Regions from separate parts of the Homo sapiens genome. Here region 2 is linked to region 1. Evidence: promoter capture Hi-C in human tissues and cell types (Jung and others, 2019). All regions are on one chromosome and are shown on one strand. The core of a region is centred on a gene start or on the middle of the fragment in contact, and the rest is flanking DNA. Distances in the headings are between cores, read along the strand shown.

Region 1 (5,973 bases), core at 2,527-5,026:
TGAGAACAGCCTGGGAAAAATGGCAAAACCCGGTCTCTACCAAAAATACAAAAAATTAGGCCAGGCGAGGTGGCTCACGCCTGTAATCCCAGCGCTTTGAGAGGCTGAGGCGGGTGGTTCACCTGATGTCAGGAGTTCGAGACCAGCCTGGCCAATGTGGTGAACTAAAAAAAGAAAAATTAGCCAAGCACGGTGGCTTGCGCCTGTAATCCCAGCTACTTGGGAGGCTGAGGCAGGAAGATTGCTTGAACCCGGGAGGTGGAGGTTGCAGTGAGCCAAGATCGCATCACTGCACTCTAGCCTGGTTGACAAGAGAGAAATTCCATCTCAAAATAAATAAATAAATAAATAAATAATAATAAAAATAAAAATAACAAAAATATAAAAAATTAGTCAGGTGTGGTGGCGTGCACCTGTAGTCCCAGCTACTTGGGAGGCTAAGGTGGGAGAATCACCTGAAACTGGGAGTTAGAGGCTGGAGTGAGCCATGATTATACCACTGCACTGCAGCCTGGGTAACAGAGTGAAACCTGTCTCAAAACACAGACACAAACAAACAAACCACATACAGTCTAAAGTACTGTGAATGGATAGTGGTATCATTATTAGCTGGAGGTAAAGTGACTCACCGTAGTTTATGACGGAGCAAAATCCTACTGAGCTTTTCCACCTCCCCACTCCTGAATTAGTTATCCATCATTGATGTCAGCCTGATTGTGAAAAAAGGGAGAGCTGCTGATACGGAAAGTAGAGGGAAGAGAGCCCAAATATCTTCAATATAATAGCAAATCCTAGAATCTAGAATGTAGTGGTTAAGATAATAGCCATTTACCAGTCTTGTGGCTTGGGAAAGTGGATTAACATCTGTGCCTCAGTTTCCCTATCTATGAAATGGGGGACAAGAACCAACATAGATGTGACCACATGTGAGAAAGTGAAAAGGGGACTAAGAAAATTAAAAAAAAAAAAACAGTTCTGTTAGTAGAATGTTCCCAACTGGACATAAACAGCACTCACAGAATATGAACAATGTTCATAGACAGTTTCACCATGATCGTGTTTTGGACAAGACAGAAACAAGGCCCTCAACAACCACACAAATGGGAAAACACCCCCTTCTTCTAATGTAAATGATCCCGCTTTTTTTTTAACCAATGACAGCTCTAGCTTGCTTTGTTCCTCCTTCTGTTTAGATAAAACCAAGACTGAATTGCTTGTTTCCTGACAGCATCCAATTCAAATTTGGCCTCCTACTTTCCCAATCCCTCTAGAATAAGCCCAAATTCTATAAGAGATTCCTCCTAATTCCTTTTCATTAAGAGGCTCCCTACTACACTTCAGGTGTGCCTTTTTATTATTTTTTATTCTTTATTTTATTTATTTATTTATTTATTTTTGAGATAGACTTTTGCTCTTGTTGGCCAGGCTGCAGTGCAATGGCACGACCTCGGCTCACTGCAACCTCTGCCTCCCGGGTTCAAACAATTCTCCTGCCTCAGCCTGCCAAGTAGCTGGGATTACAGGCACCCGCCACAACGCCCGGCTAATTTTTGTATTTTTTTTTAGTAGAGACGGGGTTTCACCATGTTGGCCAGGCTGATCTCAAACTCCTGATCTCAGGTAATCTGCCTGCCTCGGCCTCCCAAAGTGCTGGGATTACAGGCATTAGCCACCGTGCCCGGCCAGGTATGCCTTTGCCCAGCCAGGTATGCCTTTTTATGGTGGGCACATATTCATCAAAAGTCATACTAGAGTAATCATATTGGCCCTATTCAAAATAGATAAAATATCCAAATGCCCAACAATAAAATGAATACATAAATTAAGGAATATTCACATAATGTAACATTATAATATATAACAATGAGAAACAAATACAACTTCATTCAACAATGTCAATGAATCTCATACTATCGAGCAAAAGAAGCTAGACCCTAAAAAATATATTGTATAATGTATATACATTAAGTTTAAAAGCAGGTGAAGCTAATCCATAGTGTTAAATGTCAGCATAATGATTATCTTTGTGGAGAGATGGGAAGAGGCATGAGGGGAACTCCCAGATATGGGTAAAGCTCTGCCCTTTCTCTGGGTGCTAGTTATATGTATGTGTTGAGTTGATGAAAAGTCAATACACTGTACTTATGATTCATGCACTTTTCTTTGTGTATGTTAGCCTGAATTAAAAAGTTTAAGAAAAAACAAATACTTTTTTTTTTTTTTGAGACAGAGTCTCACTCTGTTGCCCAGGCTGGAGTGCAGTGGGGCAATCTTGGCTCACTGCAATCTCCGCCTCCCGGATTCAAGGGATTCTCCTGCCTGAGCCTCCCAAGTAGCTGGGATTACAGGTGCACACCACCACGCCCAGCTAATTTTTGTATTTTTAGTAGAGACGGGGTTTCACCATGTTGGCCAGGCTGGTCACAAACTCCTGACCTCAAGTGATCCACTTGCCTTGGCCTCCCAAAGTGCTGGGATTGCAGGTGTGAGCCACCACGCCCGGCCAAAAACAAATACTTTTTTAAAAGAAAGTTTAAAACAAAAGTTAAAAAAAAAGAAAAAAACAGGTACAAACCTGAAAAATCTCCCAATTAACAAAGCTGGGACAATTTTAGCAACAAAATAATGTAGTATTGGAATGTAACCATTATAAGATAAACATCCATGAGTCCATACTGATATAAATAGCTAAGTGAGGGAGAAGAGGCAAACTTCCCTTGGGGAAGATAATTTATGTACATACTCCCCACTGCAGGAGGTAGAGCTTAAATACCCCGCCTTCCCACCTTGAGTGTGGGTTGCATTTATTGACTTGGTTCCAAAGTAGTGTGGAAGGGTAGGAGGAGTAATTGCACAGTAGAGAAAACTGGCAAGCACTACCTTAGAGAGGTAATCAAGGTTAACATGATCAGTGATGTCATTTTGACAGCATGTACCCTTGATTCTATGTGATGAGAACAGCCAGTCACCTTGTGGTCTTCCTCCTAAACACCCAAAACCCCAGTCTAACCATGAGAAAAATATTGGCCAAACCCAAATTGAGGCACATTCCACCAAATATCTGAGGAGTAACTCTTCAAAACTGTCAAGGTCATCAAAAACAAGAAGAATCTGAGAAACTGCCACAGCCAAAAATAGCCTAAGACGACATAATGAATAAATGCAATATGGTGTCCTGGACAGGATCCTGGAACAACAACAAAAAAAGGACATTGAAAGAAAGCTGGTAAATGTGAATAAAATGTGTAGTTTAGTGAGTAATAGTGCGCCAATCAAACTGGTTTCTTAGATGTGATCAACGTAACATAGTAAAATAATTAAGATGTTCACAATAGGAGAAACTAGGTGAGGAGACAGGAACTCTAGGTGTCATCTTTGCAACTTTTCTGCACAACTACAACTATTCTAAAATAAAAGGCGTTTCTTTTTAAACGGGAATCCTCAACAGCGCCTCTCTCATGGGGTTGCAAGAAATCAATGAGATAGTACAGACCAAGTGCAGGGCTCAGTGCTTAGCACATAAATGTCAGATGTGGTTATTGTAATATTATGTAACATTGAGGGACAAAAGCTCTGACACCTCGGTGTTTTAATTAGAGTAAGCAAAGGACAGACGCGCGTACGTCCCACCGCGTCAGCCCTGTGAACATCCAGAGGTTCCAGCCAGAGTACGTCCGGCCGGAGGCGGGGCGCGGAGGGGACGTCGGCGTGGGGCGGGGCCAGTAGCAGTTCCCACGCCGGCGCTCCAGGCGCGGCAGGCTGCCGCCCCCGGAAGTAGTGGGTACCGGGACGCCGTGAGGCGGAAGCTGTGTATGGCGGGAGGCTGTGGCGGTCCCTTGGTGGGGAAGCTGTTGCTGTTGCTAGACGACGGGAACTAGCTCTCGTCACTTCCTCAGCCCGCCGTCTGCCCACTCCTCTAGCCGGAACCTGGGGGCCCGGAGCCGGGGTAGGCACAGAGTTGTCCTCGGAGGTCCAGGACAGCGGCCAGCCCGGCGGCGGGAGTCAGGGCCACGCCACCTGCAGGGAAGAACCCGAGTCGAAGCGGGAAGATGGCTGCAGACAAGCCTGCAGGTAGGGCGCCAATGTCCCGAGCGACGAGACGGCGGGACGTGCGGGGCCGGGCGGACCCTGAACTCGGAGGCGGCGGGGCCCGGGGTGGGGACTCCAGGGCGACTTGAATTTGGGCGTGCATTTCTTTACCCCATCCTCTGTCTCGGCTGTCGCTAACATGAGTCTTCGGGCCCCGGGTCCAATAGTTGTTTTACTCAAGTGCAGTATTTGAAGTCGCCACTGGCCGCCTTTGCCCTGCTCTTCAGAATAACTCCGGCCCAAAAAGCTTAAATGTATTTTGCCGCTTCGCAGAATTTTCCGCTTCTTCGTGGGAAAAGCAGACAAGAGAAAGTCACCCTGGAGCACACATCTGCCTATAATATCGCGTGGCTGAGGCTGGGATTCACCTGGGCTGTTTTGACCACATGTGGCTTCCTCTGGTCATTGACTCCTGTGAAATTAACTTTGTAAAAACCACTTTTTTTTTTCTTGATAGAGACGGGCGGGGGTCTCGCTATGGTGCCCAGGCTGATCTCGAACTTCTGGGCCCAAGCGATCCTTCCGCCTTGGCCTCTCAAAGTAAACCACTTATTTAAAAAGGCATAAAATCCTATTGTCTCTCTACAGTCTGTGCTCCTAAAATCTTGCATTTGGTACTTAATTGCTCTAGTTCCTCGAAATTACTTAATCTCAATGGTTTTCTTTATGGATTATTGCTCCCATTCCTAGAATCTTCCACATTAAGGAATATAAAATTATTTCCTGACCTTGTCCGGAATGTTTCCCGCAAGAAATTCATATTCTTTGTGGCATCCAGGTTTTATTGGAAAGAACTTAAGTGACAGGATTTAAAAGTGATGGAACTTAAAATTTTTACAGTGAATTTAATTTAAAATTAAAGAAAAACTCAGTGTGCTGTGGATTTTAGTAGGTTCTGGTCACAATAACTGACAAATGAACTTCACTTGGAAATTAAGCCAATTCTATTTTAGGTACAGAGGAATAAAAATCATTAGAGGATCTCTTCAATAATCTAAGAAGAAAAACAACAGAACAAAGGCCTTGAGAGGGTATAAGGAATGTGCTGTGAAATTTTGGATAGGTTGTTCAGGGAAGGCCTCTGGTGAGATGATATTTGAGCAGAGATATGTAAGAAGTGAGGGAATGAGCCATAAGAAATGAGGAAAGGTGGATGAGGGAGAGACTATTAGACAGGAAAACGGCATGGCCTGTCCAAGGCTGGACCAGGGGACCAACATCTTCCTCCTTATTTTAGAATAGTGTCTGTGTTCCCCACATTTACCATTCCTACTTGCTCATACCATTGCGCTTGCCCGAAATCACCCTTTTAGACCTAAAGCCCATCCAGTTTTCAAATCCTCAGTCATAAAGCCTTCTACTTGTTCATTTATTCATTCGCAAAGATTGAGTGTTGAATAATGGATATGACACACTCCCTGCCTTTGAAGACCTGCTGTTCAGTCTGTTGGAGGAGACAGGCATATCCTAGCTGCACTCCTGTTTGGTAAGAGCTGTGTAATGTGTGTAGTTGAAGAATAAGGTCCACAGTGATTAGGGGACTGTTTTTTTCATTGGTTTAAGTTTATAGGCCATATTGAAGGAAACTTCCTGCTTTGATATAAGGTTAAATTTGAATAAAATAGATGAGTGTTTAGTGTAGCTCCTTTGAATCTCTGCTCATCTCCATCTCATCTGCTGTGTTTCTGGCCTTTATCTTTTAATATGATCTATGTCGCATTGAGTAGTCTTCTCACTGGTGTTTGTCTCTTGTCTCTTCCTATCCCATCCATTTTCCTCACTGTCGCCCCCCGCTTTTTTTATGTCCTAAGACATTCATTGAATCCTGTCATTCCCCTTCCTATAAAGTTTCTAAGACTGTACATGCTTTGGGCATCAAGTCAT
Region 2 (5,973 bases), core at 1,590-4,089, 520 kb before region 1:
TTTGATTCCTTTTTCCTTTTTCATTCTGACCACCACTACTCCGGTCTTCCTCTGTTTCCTTCTCCCTCCCTTCTCTTCTCCATTGCTATAGAAAAAATAGCAGGAGGGCAGCATTCAAGGCTGCCCTGTGGCTTATTAGCCCTGTGGCCTTGGGCAAGTCACGTATTTAGCTGTTCTGTGCCCCGGTGTTCTTATCCACAAAATTAAGATGGAAGACCAGATGAACACCATGGTCCCTACCAGCTTGAGCATTCACATTCAGAGGCCTCCTGCTCTTATAGAGTGAAGCACATGGTCCTTAGGCAGATGTGGCCCCCCTCAATCTAGCACCAATGTAACTTCCTGCAGTACATCCTCTTACTCCCTATGGTACCGTCTTTTCTTGAATGGAACTTTTCTTTGCCTCTCATTTTACCTTAATTACCTTTTCTTTTTTTTTTTGAGACGGAGTCTCGCTCTGTCGCCCAGGCCGGACTGCGGACTGCAGTGGCGCAATCTCGGCTCACTGCAAGCTCCGCTTCCCGGGTTCAAGCCATTCTCCTGCCTCAGCCTCCCCAGTAGCTGGGACTACAGGCGCCCGCCACCGCGCCCGGCTAATTTTTTGTATTTTTAGTAGAGACGGGGTTTCACCTTGTTAGCCAGGATGGTCTCGATCTCCTGACCTCATGATCCACCCGCCTCGGCCTCCCAAAGTGCCCTTAATTACCTTTTCAAAGACCGTGTCACATTCTGAGATACTAGGGGTTAGGACCTAAGCATATTAATTGGGAGGAGGGCACAATTCAGCCCGTACACAACATGTTCTCTGAGGTGCATGTTGCAAGCTCCTGGGTCTCACTCTGTCACCCAGGCTGGAGTGCAATGGTGCAATCTCAGCACTGCAATCTCCGCCTCCCATGTTTAAGTAATTCTCTTGCCTCAGCCTCTCCAGTAGCTGGGATTACAGGCGTGTGCCCCTATACCCAGCTAATTTTTGCATTTTTAGTAGAGACTGGTTTTTACCACGTTGCCCAGGCTGGTCTCGAACTCCTGGCCTCAAGCAATCTGCCCACCTTGGCTTCCCAAAGTGCTGGATTACAGGCATGAGCCACCACGCCTGGCCTGGCTTTATTTATAATACTGCACATCCCTGCACTTAGTCTGAAGTCTGAAACATCTTAAGCCCTCAGTATTGATTAGTGGGATAGCTGGCTGACTGGTTTGTCCTTTTTTTTTTTTTTTTTTTTTTTTTGAGACAGAGTCTTGCTCTGTCGCCCAGGCTGGAGTGCAGTGGCACGATCTTGGCTCACTGCAACCTCCACCTCCCAGGTTCACACCATTCTTCTGCCTCAGCCTCCTGAGTAGCTGGGACTACAGGCGCCCGCCACCACGCCCAGCTAAGTTTTTGTATTTTTAGTAGAGACGGGGTTTCACTGTGTTAGCCAAGATGGTCTCGATCTCCTGACCTCGTGATCCACCTGCCTCAACCTCCCAAAGTGCTGAGATTACAGGCGTGAGCCAGCACACCCAGGCCTCTGGTTTGTCATTTTTTTAAATGAAATGTTGTCTTTTTCTTCCTTTCACCTCTAACTTTATTTAGAGAGTCTTCCAAACTGATCTAATTGTCCTTTTAGCATTTTATGTAATAGAAAATAATATTTAGATGGGCAGTGTAGCCTAATGGTTGATCATTGGCTTCAGAGTCCAAAACTGTGGTTCAATTTACTCATATATAGAATGGGGACAATATTTTCTACCTCATGGGGTGATTGTAAGGATTAAACAAGTTACTCGTCTGTAGAAATTTCTCTTCCACACACTTCATATCTCTTGTTAACATCCCTTCCACAGAATGCACTTTGGAAATGATAGTTTTAAAAGTTGGGAGTGCTTTCAGCTGCAAGACCAACACACAGTTATAACAGGGAATATGGAGGTGAACATTATTAAAGTGTTGGCCCAGTGGCTCTGGCTCTGGATTAGAATCTCAGTGATCCTGTTGGCTTTCCCTTGAACCTCAAGATGGCTGCAGCAGCTCCAGGCATCACATTCACTTTTACACTCAGGAAGGGAACAAGAGTAGTCTGGGGTAACAGATTTTTCCTCTAGTGCCTCTCGAGAAATCTTCCTCGAGAAACCTTCAGCAGATATATTATGTCTTGCTGCCTAGGACTGTGTTACTTGACCAATTCTAGGTGAAAGGCTAGGAAGGTGAGTAGTCTCTTCCAACCTTGGGGAAAGGGAGAAGCAGGTTGGAAATGGCTTTGGATGGCCAGTCATCTGCTACCACACTGCTTTGGGGACATATACATTGTTCTTGTTTTAGGAACAGGGAAACATAGCATGGAAGGACAAAGAAAGGGGCTGAAGTTTCTAGGCTTTAAATCCAATCCACAGGAATTTATTCAACGAATTCTCACGGAGCACCTGCCCCTTGCCGTGCATGGTGCCAGGCACTGAGGATACAGTAGTGAAAAAAACAGACTTGGTCCCAGTCCTCAGGGAGCTTTCTCGGTCCAGGACACACTATCCATCTTGTGGCTGCTATTATAAGCTGTTGTTACTGCACATCCACCATTTGCCAAGTGTGTACTGTGTGCTTCACACATAAGTCATTTAATACTTGCAGCAAGGCTGTGTATCCAGTCCCATTTTACAGATGGGCAAACAGGGTCAGAAGGATTGTGAAACTTGCCCAGAGTTAGTAGGCTGTAGAGTCAGAGTTGATTAGGTCTACCTGACTCCAAAAAAATAAAACATTCCACAAAAAAGTAGCAAAACATTCCGTACCTTAAAAAAACTACAATGAAGAAACAACCCTACAACGATAGACTCTCATAAAGACATGTGATCTATTAGTACTATTTGTTCTTCTTAAAAATTATCATTATAAGGTTCTGTCCAGCTAATTTTCAGGATTGCCTTTCAAGACTCTATTGATTCTGCCAAGCTCACTTTGAGCTATGTGTGTGTGTGTATTTAAAAGCCTGGGCCGGCGCGGTGGCTCACGCCTGTAATCCCAGCACTTTGGGAGGCCGAGGTGGGTGGATCATGAGGTTAGGAGTTTGAGACCAGCCTGACCAACATGGTAAAACCCCGTCTCTACTAAAAATACAAAAATTAGCCAGGCGTGGTGGCACACACCTGTAATCCCAACTACTCTCAGGAGACTGAGGCAGCAGAATCGCTTGAATCCAGGAGGCAGAGGTTGCAGTGAGACAAGATCATGCCACCGCACTCCAGCCTGGGCGATAGAGTGAGACTTTGTCGCAAAAGAAAAGAAAAAAGAAAAAAAGCCTGATGAAATTATTTCTTTAGTGATTTTTCACTTATATCTGTATTCACATCTTGGAAGAAAAGGTAAGATAAATCAAGCTTCTGACATAAGATGAGTGCTTTGCTAATCGTGGGTCCTCACTCGGATTCTTGCGGGAGCATTCCAGCCTACATTATTTGTTACCTTGGGATGATTCTTTTTGGAGAAGGGAGAGCAATGCCTCCTTGCAATTTAAAAATTTATTTTTACAACTTTTAAAATAATGACAGAATATAGACTCCTCCAAGATTTGACCAAGAGTTGGAGCCACAGCTCCTATGTAAATGACAACAGTTTGCCCTGGTAGGATCACCGTGTGACTTGGTTGTGGACAGTGTGCTCCAAGCTTAATTAGGCAGAGGATGGTCTAGGTTGCCCCAGGATCTGACAGCCACATTCCAGAGGCTCTCTGCAGACCAAATAATAAAGGAATGTAGAAAGTGCTCACTGTGTTTTCCATAGTCACATACTAACCTGCAATCTGTTAGGACAGAAAACCTAACTTATTCTCTGAGGTAAATCCAGTGGCCTAACTTTGTCTTTTCACATTTCCTCCCAACTAGGTTTCCATTGTTTACTGCAGTGTATCAGATCTGCTACGAAAGCAGACCAGTTCAAGAGATGTTGTCTTGTCTTCAGAGCCATCCAGAGCATACATAAAGTGAATCATGCAACGTGTTGGGGGAAGTTCTGCCTTTCTGATCAATCTTTTGGGTTCACGTGGAAACCAGGACTTGGCAACATGATGTTTGACTGTAATCTCATCACGGATATGTATGAATTTTTACAGGTTCGTTTTTGAATTGTGAGAGGCAGTTCATTAGCAAAGATGTACTGGGCAGTAACTAAACACACATGCAAACATGTGAATGGTGGTTTATTCCTCATTCTGTGGATGTTTCTATGAGCCAAAATTTGATGTCTTTTTTTCAAAATTGCTTATGAAATTTCCACACAATCGTAGCTTATAAGATTGGAACGATCTCAGCCAAATATTTTAGGTGTAATTCATATGTATTTGAGTGGAGGATTTTTTTTCTCATTTTTCTAGTGTTAAATTTTAACCAGCATTAACATGGTAGAGTGGAGGAGTGAGTGTGTTCAAAGATCAACATATTTAACTTTTAAACACTATCTCAAAGCCAGCATAATTAACTACTTTGATTGTGGGCTGACCTTTGTTTTTTTAACAATCAGGCATTTTTAATTAGATAATCCACTCATGTATTTCCCCCTCACTGCAGTTGTCTGCATTTTTAGCCTCTTTTCTCTTCGTTAGTTGTCAGAATATGCCTTCGTCAAGGCTCAGAGGTAACAAGACAGAAAATTCATCTGGGATTTTCCTGCTGTGGCTGGCACATTCTTCTGATTAACAGACACTTGTATGATGCTTTAGGCTAGTTAGTGCATTTTTTAGCAAACATTTATCTTAAACATCACAGATCCACTGGGGGGTGCAAGGGGCTACTGTTAGTCCTCTTGTTAGATGCAGTCACTCCTCCTGGTCACCTAGTGAGCAGGGACAGAGCCAGGAGTCAAGTGCAGTGCCAAGGTGCATGACCCTCTGAGAAGTCACTGGGCTGATTTGACCTCCGACTCATTGGTTGTGCAAATGCCATGTGCAGCCTTTCCTGAGGCCATAGGAGGGCTTCCTGCAGCTGAGATCTATGCAGGCCATCCTCTCAACAAGTGCCACTCCAAGGGCGGTCCTCGGTGCAGCAGCATCAGCTTCACTTGTGGGGGGGTGGGGGAAGGGGCGGTCTCAGAAATGCAGGTTCCCAGGTCCCACCCTGGACTTCTGAAGGGGTGTGGCATCTGTGTTTCTGATGCTTACTACAATATGTGAACCACTACTTTAGAAAATCTGCTTTAACTTGGTATTCCTCTAATTGTGTTCCCTAGGAAATGACTGTCCCAAGAGCCAGTGATTATTCCAGGTGTTCCCTGGAAAGGTCAAGTGAGTCTGGGAAACACTATGTCTGTACACCTCTTGAAGGTGTCGAATGTATGTTTATACATCAGTGGAACCCATTTTTCTAGCCTAGCAAGTCCCAAACACATTACACTGAAGAGATTTTGGTGAGGAAACTTGCTGGAGTTTTCAGGGAACACTGTTCTAGGCTTAGGTGACCTTAGGATCACTCAAGTAGACCCTTCACTCCCTGCGAGAAATTAGGATGAATAACTACCTGTGGCATTGTTGGTTCTGAACTTTTACAGTTCAGGCCTGCTGTGAATCTTTGATGAAGCTTTAAGGTGACACTGTTGTACAAGATGTCAGCTTTGCTGAAACGCACATTACCTGGAATAAGTGCTTTAATTGTAGAATTAGAATGGGATTTACTGTACTGTTTTAAATGAGATTGGCTTCAGAATCCATTACAGTTACCTTACATAGCACTTGATACGTGTTAAATGAACATATGAATGTAATTTATATATTCCTAGAATTTAAGTTACTTTGTGAGATTTGGGCCTGTCCCTCAATGCCAGTTTAGGATTTCTTTTTTTCTATACCTTGAAATGATTATAAAATAGATTTTCATGGGAATTTTAAAAACTCTATCCAAAACATTTTTGGAGCATTTTAAAGCCCCATACACAGAAGTATACGAAAGCACACAAAACACTCCAAGTTTCAGCAGTTTTAGCGCCACCATTAACCCACTTTGCTTGTC

What was found. The method cuts DNA at HindIII sites, captures the fragments that hold promoters and counts their contacts. A contact is called where the count stands out against the background at its distance.
Region 2: a contact is called between a fragment that was not itself captured here and the fragment with the promoter of CNOT10 in region 1, in 1 of the 25 tissues and cell types used here (pancreas).

What each region holds. Positions count from the first base shown.
Region 1 is chr3:32,681,412-32,687,384 of GRCh38, forward strand. CNOT10 (CCR4-NOT transcription complex subunit 10) reads left to right here and starts at 3,777. Exons shown (of 19, transcript NM_015442.3): 1 at 3,777-4,071. The coding sequence starts at 4,050. RefSeq lists a silencer at 3,578-3,887. The HindIII fragment of the contact is 8,061 bases long and covers 1-5,973 here.
Region 2 is chr3:32,161,956-32,167,928 of GRCh38, forward strand. GPD1L (glycerol-3-phosphate dehydrogenase 1 like) reads left to right here. Exons shown (of 8, transcript NM_015141.4): 8 at 3,859-5,973. The coding sequence ends at 3,955. Among named protein-coding and RNA genes, the nearest start is that of GPD1L, 58 kb to the left of the region's middle. The HindIII fragment of the contact is 3,505 bases long and covers 1,088-4,592 here.